Regions from separate parts of the Homo sapiens genome. Here regions 1, 3 and 4 are each linked to region 2. Evidence: promoter capture Hi-C in human tissues and cell types (Jung and others, 2019). All regions are on one chromosome and are shown on one strand. Each heading gives the region's core, a stretch centred on a gene start or on the middle of the fragment in contact. The rest is flanking DNA. Distances are from core to core; before and after follow the strand shown. Region 1 overlaps TRIP4 (thyroid hormone receptor interactor 4). Region 2 holds the start of PPIB (peptidylprolyl isomerase B). Region 3 overlaps CSNK1G1 (casein kinase 1 gamma 1). Region 4 overlaps CSNK1G1 (casein kinase 1 gamma 1).

Region 1 (2,700 bases), core at 198-2,697, 250 kb before region 2:
AATAATGAGGAAATCATATTGGGAACATTTTTCTTAGAAAAATATATCCCAGGCCGGGCATCGTGGCTCACGCCTGTAATCCCAGCACTTTGAGAGGCCAAGGCGGGTGGATCACTTGAGGTCAGGAGTTCTAGGCCAGTCTGGCTAACATGGTGAAACCCCATCTCTACTAAAACTACAAAAATTAGCTGGGCGTGGTGGCAGGTGCCTATAATCCCAGCTACTCATGAGGCAGAGGCAGGAGAATCATTTGAACCCAGGAGGTGGAGGTTGCAATGAGCCAAGATTGTGCCACTGCACTCCAGCCTGGGCAAGAGAGACTCTGTCTCAGAACAACAACAACAACAACAACAAATGAAAAATAATCCCATCTTTGTCTGCAATAAGGCCAAAAGGGTAGAGATAGTATACATTCAGTAGAAGTCTCAGGTATGATAACAAGGCCCATCTTAAAGAATAATTAGAATGTTGAAATCTCCATACAATGCTTACTAATTCCAGCAACAGCACAAATATCACACCAAAAGAGCTATAATTATTTCCAATTTATACTTAATGATCCATACTTGGTTCTGGATAATTTTTCAATAGAATTCTGTGAGCTAAATGAAAGTTCAACATTTTGGTCCACAATTCTGCATGTGCTTAGGGGCAGTGTCACATGCTGGCACCATGACAAAGCCAAACAGATGTTGTCAGGTCAGAGGCAGCAGTTCTGACTACTGGATGCATGAAATATTCTCTTACCCTGAAATGAAGAACTTGTCTCCTGAAAGAGAGGGTGGAGGACTACTAAAACAGGGCTCCCATCATATAAAAAGAATAGAGAATTATAAGGTACAGGTAATTACAGGAGAGTGAAGAGTCTTGGCAACAGTTCAGACAGAGAATGGCAAAGGTTAATGTTTCTTCCAGAGCAACGATACCATGTCCTCCAAAATTAAAATTTAAAAATAAAGGCAATTAGCATGATGATATTTGGGGTTATCTTTTTTAAAAAATTAATAATTTATAAAGCTGAACACAGTGAAGCATGCCTGTAGCTTCACTAGTTACTCAGGAGGTGAGGCAGGAGGATCACTTGAGCCCATAAGTTCAAGGCCAGCCTGGGCAACATGGTGAGGTCCTGTGTCTTTAAAAATAATAATAAGGGCCAGGCATGATGGCCGATGTCTGTAATCCCAGCACTTAAGGAGGCCAAGGCAGGAGGATCGCTTGAGCCCAGAAGTTTAAGACCAACCTGGGCAACAAGGCGAAACTCCTTCTCTACAAAAAAATATACAAATTAGTAAGGTATGATGGCACGTGGCTACTGTAGTCTGAGCCACTTGAGAAGCTGAGATGGGAGGATCTCTCGAGCCTGGGAGGTGGAGGCTGCAGTGAGCTATGATCATACCACTGCACTCTAGCCTGGATGACAGAACAATATCCTGTCTCAAAAATAAATAAAAATGAACATAAAATAACTTATAGGAAAAAACTTCTAGTGGTAGTCGAAACCCTAGGCATTTAACCCCTAAAGATTTCAGTTTTTCAAACTGGAAAAGGATGAAGTTGGACTAAATAAATTTCTAAGGATCTTTCTGCCATACAATTTTATGATTCTTGTCAATTGTGGCATATCTTAAAAATACACATTTTTACAAATTAAATACACATTTATTGAGTACTTAACTGTGAAAAGCACATTAACTAGGGAGACATAAAATATGAAAAAGATACGGTTCTTGCTTGCAAGGAACTTAAAGCCTAGTGGAAGACAGACACATAAATAACTATTCAAAACATAAGGCAGAATTGACTACATACTAAATAGGAGATAGAAGTTTTTACAGAGGACCAAAGAGGAAAAAGAATTGATCCATTATAGGGTAAATAAATAATTTCTTTAAAAAAAATTTTTTTTGAGACACTGTCTTGCTCTGTTGCCCAGGCTGGTCTTGACCTCCTGGCTTCAAGTGATCCTCCTTCCTCAGCCTCCCAAAATGCTAGGATTACAGACGTGAGCCACCACACCTGGCTGGAAATAAATAATTTCATAAAATGTTGGTATGTGAACAATCTTGAGGCCCAAATTATTTTTTCTATTTCTACTACAGCTGTTCCCTCTAATTACACAGCCACTTTCCTAAATTAATTCCTCATTATCTTTTGATAATACTATTAAAGAATCTGCCAGCAGGTCTCTTCATCTACATTTTTAGTCTTTATGATGATAATTATTTTTTTTTAGAGATGGGGTCTCACTGTGTCATCCAGGCTGGAGTGTGGTGGCTTAATCATAGCTCACTGCAGCCTCCAACTCCTGGTCTCAAGTGATCCTCCCACCTCAGCTTCCCAAGTATCTGGGACTATAGATGTGTATCACTACATCTCAGGCCCGGCTCCCACTTTTGGTCTTTAAATAACTCTCTACTGCTCCACTAGTGCTTTAATACTAATTTGGGCTGGCATCATCTTTCCATGGTGCTATTGCAATGACTACCTTGGCAATTTCTCAGCTTCTAATCTTACTTACTCTTCCCTCCAATCCATTCTCTACGTAGGCATGGAAGCCATGCCAATCTTCTGTTAAAATTCTTCCAGAACCCTTCTTTGCCTACTTTAGGGCAAAACCTAAACTCATTAGCATAAGACAAAAAATCTTTCATGATCAGGTGTTGCTTACTGTACTGGGTTGAGTAGTATCCCCCCAAAATC
Region 2 (2,700 bases), core at 188-2,687:
TGATTTAGTAAACATTTTTCTCTGGCTATGGCAGCCTGAGACCAGTGAGTGAAGAAAGAGGCTTAACAAAATAGGAGAAAAAAAAAAAAAAGGGATGAGAGATGGATCTGGAAGATCATCTTTGTCAGTATAACAATGTTTAAAACTTCCTCCTGATTGGGGTTGTCTGAATTGAGGTGCAAGGATGGGAAATAAGAGAACTGTCTTGAAGCTCTACAACCTGTGTAAGGCCGCTGTAATGAACAACAAAGTTAATGCCAGTGGCCTTGCATAACTTCAGTCTCAGGTCAGCGCCTCATGAAGACTACATTGCATAATTTATGTAAATGGAGCCCTGCCTATAATCTGTGCTGTGACGACCTGGAATTTCTACGAAGTTAATCGTTGAAAATTAGTTTTAAAGACGTTTTAACGCCATAGGTCCAAATTTTGGAAGTTTGTGTTTTGGTTTGTTTTGGTGTGTAAGACTCCCAGTACCAAAGTATCTATGTTGTAGATTGGGACAACACTAAGTGTGTGAAGACCTAAAATAGCCCTGTGGGGACATCTAGTAACTATTCCTGACCTCCGGAAAAAGGCATTGTATCCTCAGGCCGTGGCATAAATTATTTCTCATGTCAGTGCGGATGTGAAGCTATCCCAACCAGGACTTGTTGGGCACTCAGTACTGCCGCGCTGTGAGGGAGCTGTGGACAGAGTAAATGCAACACAGTCCCTTCCGCAGAAAAAAAAAAAAATGTAGTCTATTGGGGGAAAAGGTAAAGGAAGTTAAGAACAGCGTATACAATAAGATGTCCATTGATATACACAACAGTAAGCACAGCAAGATTACAGAAGGGAGAGAAAAATGGGTAGTAACTTGACGGCCTCAGTAAAAAAGGAAGTGGGTTGTGCAGCAAGTTTTGCAAGACAAGTGGAGGAGCCGTACAAGGCCACGCTCGGTAAGGATAAATGTCCCTGAAGTGTTTGGAAGCCACAACGTTTAGAGCCAATTTGGCGGTGACAAACACTTGACTGGCCCAAAACAGTGACAAGCTTCCCGTGCCCCTTGTCCAGGCCCACGTATTTGCTAACCTCAAGCGCCAGCTACCGCAGGCCAGTGGAACAGCGCTCCGGGCGGGGCGGGCCGCGGAGCATGCCGGGGCTTGTGGTCTTCTCGGAGCCCGGGCCCGTGCTCTGCGAGGCCGCCTTCCGCCGGTGGCCTTCCTGTGGGCGGGAGAGGGCGGCCGGGAGCCCAATGAGGGAGCAATAACGTGGCAACCACCCACGAGCCCGCGTCGGTGCCCGCCCCGCAGGGGGACCTACTATCCGGCGCCGAGCCGGAGGGGGGAAACGGCGCCCGCCGCCCGCCCGGAGCCCGCGAGCAACCCCAGTCCCCCCCACCCGCGCGTGGCGGCGCCGGCTCCCTAGCCACCGCGGCCCCACCCTCTTCCGGCCTCAGCTGTCCGGGCTGCTTTCGCCTCCGCCTGTGGATGCTGCGCCTCTCCGAACGCAACATGAAGGTGCTCCTTGCCGCCGCCCTCATCGCGGGGTCCGTCTTCTTCCTGCTGCTGCCGGGACCTTCTGCGGCCGATGAGAAGAAGAAGGGGCCCAAAGTCACCGTCAAGGTCCGGTGGAGTCCGCGGCATTTACGGTGCCGGAGCTCGGGCCCGGGCGGCCTTGGCTTGGCCTTGGCTCAGCCCCTCCTCCCTCGGCTTCTGTCTGTGGCCTCGTGGCGTCTGGGCCGTCCTGCCCATTCAGTCCAGGGAACGACCCGGACCCACCCCGACACCCCCAGCCCCTGCCCTGACCCAGGGAGTTAGTTGGATCCCCGGATACCCATCTGGGGCCGACACTGGCAGTCTCAGAGCAGGCTTTTTGCAAACACCCCTCAGTGCTGGGGAGATGGTGAAAGATCACGCCTGCCGGATTCCGAATCCTTTCTCTCCTTAAGCCAAATTTTAGCCACTTCCAATTACAAAGCACAGTATGTATACTTCAAACTTAAGTGGTGAACTTAGGCTCCGCTCCTTATGGGTTTTCTAATGTTAATTTTTAGAATCTGGGTCCATTAGCTGTTTAGAGCAAATATTGTTATCCTGTAGTCCAAGGAGGGTATAGATAAGCATGTTTTCCAAGAAAAGGGTCTGGAGCTTTCATTAGATTCTCATAGGATTTTTACCGTCACCAAAATCAGATTCAGAACCACTTCTCTAAAAATATGGCTCTATTCTCTCTCCCATCCTCAGGTTAGCTTCTTGTACCTTCCCTCCCCTAGCAACGCCCCTTTAAAGAAGCTAAGTTGGAAATGGTCTCTTTCCTCAGGTGTATTTTGACCTACGAATTGGAGATGAAGATGTAGGCCGGGTGATCTTTGGTCTCTTCGGAAAGACTGTTCCAAAAACAGTGGATAATTTTGTGGCCTTAGCTACAGGAGAGGTAAGTGGCTGGAGCAGGGGTAGTCAACTCACATGAAGTGAAATTGGCACTGGGGATGGCAGCAAACTGACCTGCAGAGTTCAGCCGATCTGTAGCGTGGACCTCACTGAGCACCGACTGCCTGTTGCCCTGGGAACACAGTATTGCCCTTTCTTAAGAGTAATGGGGCCCTGACCAGGCACAGTGGCTCACACTTAAAATCCCAGCACTTTTGGAGGCCAAAGTAGGAGGATTGCTTGAGCCCAGGAGTTCAAGGCCAACCTGAGCAACATAGCAAGACCC
Region 3 (2,700 bases), core at 43-2,542, 170 kb before region 2:
AATGAGGATCAGGACCTTTGTGGTACTTTATTTTTATGCCAGTAAGAAGTGTCTGTGGCTCCTCAATACTGGCTTCATCTTGATTGTTTTATTATTTATTTTCCTTGAGTAGGGAAGGAAAGCCATCTTCTCAGATAAGGTTATGTTTTTATTGTTTTAGCCTAGCTTTGCTTAAAAAAATTTTTAGTGAGGTAGACAAAACTCTTTATCAGGTATTGAAATATGTTTTTCCTAAAAGCATGTATTAGGCTACCCTTCTCACACAGGATGTGTTCTGAAATGACAGATAGATTTGCAGCAGATTCTCATTTTCTTTGTAGATTATGTGAACTGAGCAGTACTTGCAAAATAAGTCAATAATCTGAATCTTTGTAGTAACTCTTCTGGAGTTATTAGGGAAACCAAAAATGGAAATAATATTGTGGTCTCTAAGCTTACTCTAAATTAGGTAGTTATAGAAGTACACTTTTTGGTGAAGGTAAGTTTAACTGCTGTCATCTGTTAGATAAAACAGGGGTCCTGAAGCTCTGGGCCACAGACCAGTAGTGGTCCATGGCCCTTTAGGAACCGTGCTGCATAGCAGGAAGTGAGTGGCAGGTGAGTGGCAGGTGAGTGCGTGAAGCTTCATCTGTATTTAAAGCCACTCCCCATCACTTGCATTACTGCCCGAGCGCCACCTCCTGTCAGATCAATGGCAGCATTAGATTCTCATAGGAGCGTGAACCCTGTTGTGAACTGCACGTGAGAGGGATGTAGGTTATGCACTCCTTATGAGAATCTAATGCCTGATGATTGGCCAGAGTCTCCCATCACTTGCAGAAAGGACCATCCAGTTGCAGGAAAACAAGCTCAGGGCTCCCACTGATTCTACATTATGGTGAGTTGAATAATTATTTCATTGCATAGTACAATGTAATAATAATGGAAATTAAGTGCATAATAAATGTAGTGTGCTTGAATCATCCCTAAACCATTCCCCCCTGCCCTCCACCCCCAGTCTGTGGAAAAATTGTCTTCTGTAAAACTGGTCCTTGTGCCAAAAAGGTTGAGGACTGCTGAGATAAAAGATTTTAGGCTGGGCACGGTGGCTCACTCCTGTAATCCCAGCACTTTGGCAGGCTGAGGCAGGCATATCACTTAAGGTCAGGAGTTCAAGACCAGCCTGGCCAACATGGTGAAACACCATCTCTACTGAAATACAAAAAAATTAGCTGGGCGTGGTGGTCAGTGCATGCCTGTAATGAATGATTCATGTGGTAATGAGAAGACTGTATATCTTGCAGTTCTTGGGTAGAATGTTCAGTAAATATCTGTTAGGTCCATTTGTTCTCAAGTGCAGTTTAAATCCAGTGTTTCTTTGTTGACTTTGTGTCTCTAAGATCTATCTAGTGCTCGAAGATCTATCTATCTAGGGCTATCAGTGGAGTGTTGAAGTCCCCCATTATTATTGTGTTGCTGTCTCTGTCTTTTCTTAGGTCTAGTAGTAATTGTTCTATGAATCTAGATGCTCCAGAATTAGGTACATATATGTTTAAGATTGTAAAATCTTGTTAAATTGATCCTTTTATCATTGTATAATGACTTTGTCTTTTTAAACTGTTGTTTCTTTAAAGTCTGTTTTATCTGATGTAAGAACAGCTATTACTTCTTGCTTTTGGTTTCCGTTTGCATGTAGGAATCCTTAGGTGTTAGGTGAGCCTCTTGAAGACAGCAAATACTTGGTTTCCAATTTTTTATCCATTTTGCCAATTTGTACCTTTTAAGTGGCGCATTTAAGACCATTTACATTCAGCATTAATACTGAGATGTGAGGTACTGCTTTAGTCATCATGTTGATTGTTACCTAGACACTTTGTTGTCCTCATTATGTTATTTTATAGACCTTGTGAGTTTTGTGCTTTCAGGAGCTTCTATTCTGGTACATATTGACCTTTTTTTTTTTTTTTTTTTTTTTTTTGAGATGGTGTCTCACTGTGTTGCCCAGGCTGGTCTTGAACTCCTGGATTCAAGTAATCCTCCCACCTCAGCCTCCCAAAGTGCTGGGATTACAGGCATGAGCCACTGTGCCCAGCCATTGTTTCAAGATTTAGACCTCCTTTTAGCATTCCTTTTTTTTTTTTTTTTTTTTTTTTTGAGATGGAGTCTCACTCTTGTTGCTCAGTCTGGAGTGCAATGGCGCAATCTGGGCTGACTGCAACCTTGGCCTCCTGGGTTCAAGTGATTCACCTGTCTCAGCCTCCCGAGTAGCTGGCATTACAGGTGCCCGCCACCATACCTGGCTAAGTTTTGTATTTTTAGTAGAGACAGGATTTCACCATGTTGGCTAGGCTGGTCTTGAACTCCTAACCTCAGGTGATCCATCTACCTTGGCCTCCCAAAGTGCTGGGATTACAGGCATGGGCCACTGCTCCCAGCTAGTCAGGGAAATTTTCTTCAATTATTCCCTCAAATCAGTTTTCCAAACTTTCTGGTTTTTCTTTTCTCTCAGGAACACCAGTGATTCTTAGGTTTGAACATTTTACATAATCTCATTTATCTTGTGGGCTAAAAATTCTTTTAAAAAATTTTATGTAACTTTAAACATAAAAGTAAGATATTTTGCTTATATGAGCAAGAAAAATTTTAAATTATTTTTCAACTACTTTTTTTTTGTTTTTGTTTTTTTTTAAATTGTTTTGTGATTTGGGTTTTTTTATTTTA
Region 4 (2,700 bases), core at 35-2,534, 140 kb before region 2:
TTAAGGAGAACCTGTTGTTAAGAAATAATTTGTGAAGGGGCACTATAGTCATTATCAATTATTTGTTATCCAAGGCTCATCTCTCTTTATGTGTGTGCGATGGGCTTTTAAGTTTTCTACCAGTTCTGAGATTTTCTGATGAACATAGAGTTGCATACAGATATCAGTAAAATGCAGACTCTGATTTAGGATGTCTGAGGTGGAGCCCCAAATTCTGCATATTTTTACAAATTCCAGGTGATGCAGATGCTGTTGGTCTTTTAAGAAGGACATAAGGCCTTGGTTTAATTCAGACTCTGCCCCTGAAAAGAAAAGAGTAAATCCTTACTCAGTAATACCCAGGCTTAGTCTGCAAGGATATACAGTACATCCTGTTTGGAGAAATTTTCCAAAAGATAATTTGTTTGCGTTTCTTCCTGGAGTTTCCAGCATTAGAATTAAGTTAGAACTCCAAGGAGAAGTTAGGCAATTTTATTTCCCAACTAAGGCAATGGATTTTCTATTTCAATTATGAATTTATGGGTGAGATGGAAAATAATGACAAAATTAATCTGTCTAAAAATGTGAGATTGGGAAGAAGGTACATTGGGTATTTATATATATATATAAAATTTTTTTTTTTTTGAGATGGAGTCTTACTCTGTCGCCCAGGCTGGAGTGCAGTGGCGCGATCTCGGCTCACTGCAAGCTCTGCCTCCCGGGTTCATGCCATTCTCCTGCCTCAACCTCCCAAGTAGCTGGGACTACAGGCATCCGCCACCACGCCCGGCTAATTTTGTTTTTGTATTTTTAGTAGAGACAGGGTTTCACCATGTTAGCCAGGATGGTCTTGATCCTCTGACTTCGTGATCCGCCCGCCTCGGCCTCCCAAAGTGCTGGGATTACAGGCGTGAGCCACCGCGCCCGGCCATTTATATACTTTTTAATGGCTCTCCCTTGATGAGTGGGATAGAGAAAATAAAAGGCCGTATAAATATATGAAGTTGGAAATTAGCCTGGAGAATGTGGAAAGGTCATCTTTTAGGCTAAAGTGTTTTCTTTTCCTTCATAGCTCTTGAGACTGTGGATTAATGTGAAGACTCATTGTAAGAAACTTTGGCCCTTTGGGGGGAGTGGTGGGAGGGTGGGAACATAATGTAATTATGTTTGTTACCTCTGCTACTTCTTTTTCTTTTTGAGATGGAGTGTTGCTCTGTCACCCAGGCTGGAGTGCAGTGGTGCGATCTCAGCTCACTGCAACCTCCTCTTCCCAGGTTCAAGTGATTCTTGTGCCTCATCCTCCAGAGTAGCTGGGACTTACAGGCATGTGCCACCATGCCCAGCTTATTTTTTTTTTTTTTGTATTTTTGTGGAGACGGGCTCTTGCCATATTGGCCAGGCTGGTCTTGACCTCCTGGCCTCAAGTGATCCACCCGCCTCGGCCTCCCAAAGTGCTGGGATTACAGGCTGAGCCACTACGCCTGACCACCTCTGCTACTTGTGATGGTCCTGCATAGAGAACATGGACAAAATCTTATCTCTGATCCCCCATAGAGAGCCTTGGAGAAACATCACTATACTAGCCAGAGACCATTTGAATTTAAGAATGATGAGAATGGATTTATTTTTACTGTTAGAAGGCTGACAACCTGGAAATTCAGGACTTAATTAGGATAATGAAAGGATCTTTATATTTAGAATTGTGTTCGGGTTACCAAAGCCAGCAGATGCTACTTACAATACGAGTAAGATGTGTAATTACTGCTTTACTTTCTAGCAATCACAGAGTTGCTTTAACGAATAGTTCTGTGAATATTTCTTTATGTCATAAATTGACTGTAACATCACAGTACTACTTGGATGGATTAAATAATTATGACATAAACATCCATAAAATGATTGCTAAGAGGCAGTTTCTAAAGCATCTAAATCTTTGAATTCTCAAAACATCAGACAATTGTTTCATTTCTGTGAAAGTGAAGAAAAACCTTGGTGAATTAAAAGTGGAAATCTGTTTAATCACTGAAGTCTAGATTTGTATTATAAGTTTACGTGGGAAGGGAAAAATTCATTCAGTTAAAAGCATACATTTATAGCCCATATATATTTTCAGAGTAGTATTGTGTTTTGTTTCCTCTTTGAATCTGAGATAATTTTGATGTTTCTCATTTGGACTTGCCTGTAGTCAGAAGAACTTGTCTTTCTTTTCATGTGCTTTTACTCTTCTCTGCTTATCAAGTTTTCATTAGCCCTGGGACCATACTGTTATGGCCTTGTATCTAGAAAAGATACTTTCAGAATTATCTGGCATCTTCCTGACAATAGAGTGGGCTGCATACCCCATTCCGTCATTTTCTTGTTCTAATATTAGCGAGGAGAAGATTGTAAACTACAAAATTCCAAAGTCAAGGCAGGTGCAGTCAGCCTACATCATGGCTACCACCTACAAAGCTCTGCTTCTCTAAACTAATTTCCTTTCCTAGACACACAGTCTGTCAAACAGCCAAGTGCATTTCTTCTTATTCTTTTTTTTTTTTTGAGAGACAGGGTCTTGCTCTGTTACCCGCCCTGGAGTGCAGTGGCATGATCATAGCTCACGCAGCCTCCAACTCCCAGGCTCAAGCGATCCTCCTACTTCAGCCTCCTTAATAGCTAGTGCATAAGAACACGCCCAGCTAATTTTTTTATTTTTAAATGTTTTGTAGAGATGATGTTTTGCAG

Evidence for each region. Contacts are between HindIII fragments. The study calls those that stand out against the background at their distance.
Region 1: a fragment that was not itself captured here is called in contact with the fragment with the promoter of PPIB in region 2 in 2 of the 25 tissues and cell types used here (aorta and mesenchymal stem cells).
Region 3: a fragment that was not itself captured here is called in contact with the fragment with the promoter of PPIB in region 2 in 2 of the 25 tissues and cell types used here (mesenchymal stem cells and mesendoderm cells).
Region 4: a fragment that was not itself captured here is called in contact with the fragment with the promoter of PPIB in region 2 in 2 of the 25 tissues and cell types used here (lymphoblastoid cells and mesenchymal stem cells).

The regions. Positions count from the first base shown.
Region 1 is chr15:64,415,763-64,418,462 of GRCh38, reverse strand. All of the region lies in intron 8 of TRIP4 (thyroid hormone receptor interactor 4), which reads right to left. Among named protein-coding and RNA genes, the nearest start is that of TRIP4, 29 kb to the right of the region's middle. The HindIII fragment of the contact is 9,009 bases long and covers 1-2,700 here.
Region 2 is chr15:64,161,759-64,164,458 of GRCh38, reverse strand. It overlaps PPIB (peptidylprolyl isomerase B), which reads left to right and starts at 1,437. Exons shown (of 5, transcript NM_000942.5): 1 at 1,437-1,607; 2 at 2,305-2,418. The coding sequence starts at 1,473. RefSeq lists enhancers at 923-972, 1,079-1,579, 1,523-1,772, 1,580-2,080, 2,314-2,700 and a silencer at 1,113-1,472. The HindIII fragment of the contact is 5,042 bases long and covers 1-2,536 here.
Region 3 is chr15:64,332,691-64,335,390 of GRCh38, reverse strand. The region is part of intron 1 of CSNK1G1 (casein kinase 1 gamma 1); the gene reads left to right. Among named protein-coding and RNA genes, the nearest start is that of CSNK1G1, 22 kb to the left of the region's middle. The HindIII fragment of the contact is 3,112 bases long and covers 1-2,700 here.
Region 4 is chr15:64,297,516-64,300,215 of GRCh38, reverse strand. All of the region lies in intron 2 of CSNK1G1 (casein kinase 1 gamma 1), which reads left to right. Among named protein-coding and RNA genes, the nearest start is that of CSNK1G1, 57 kb to the left of the region's middle. The HindIII fragment of the contact is 7,582 bases long and covers 1-2,700 here.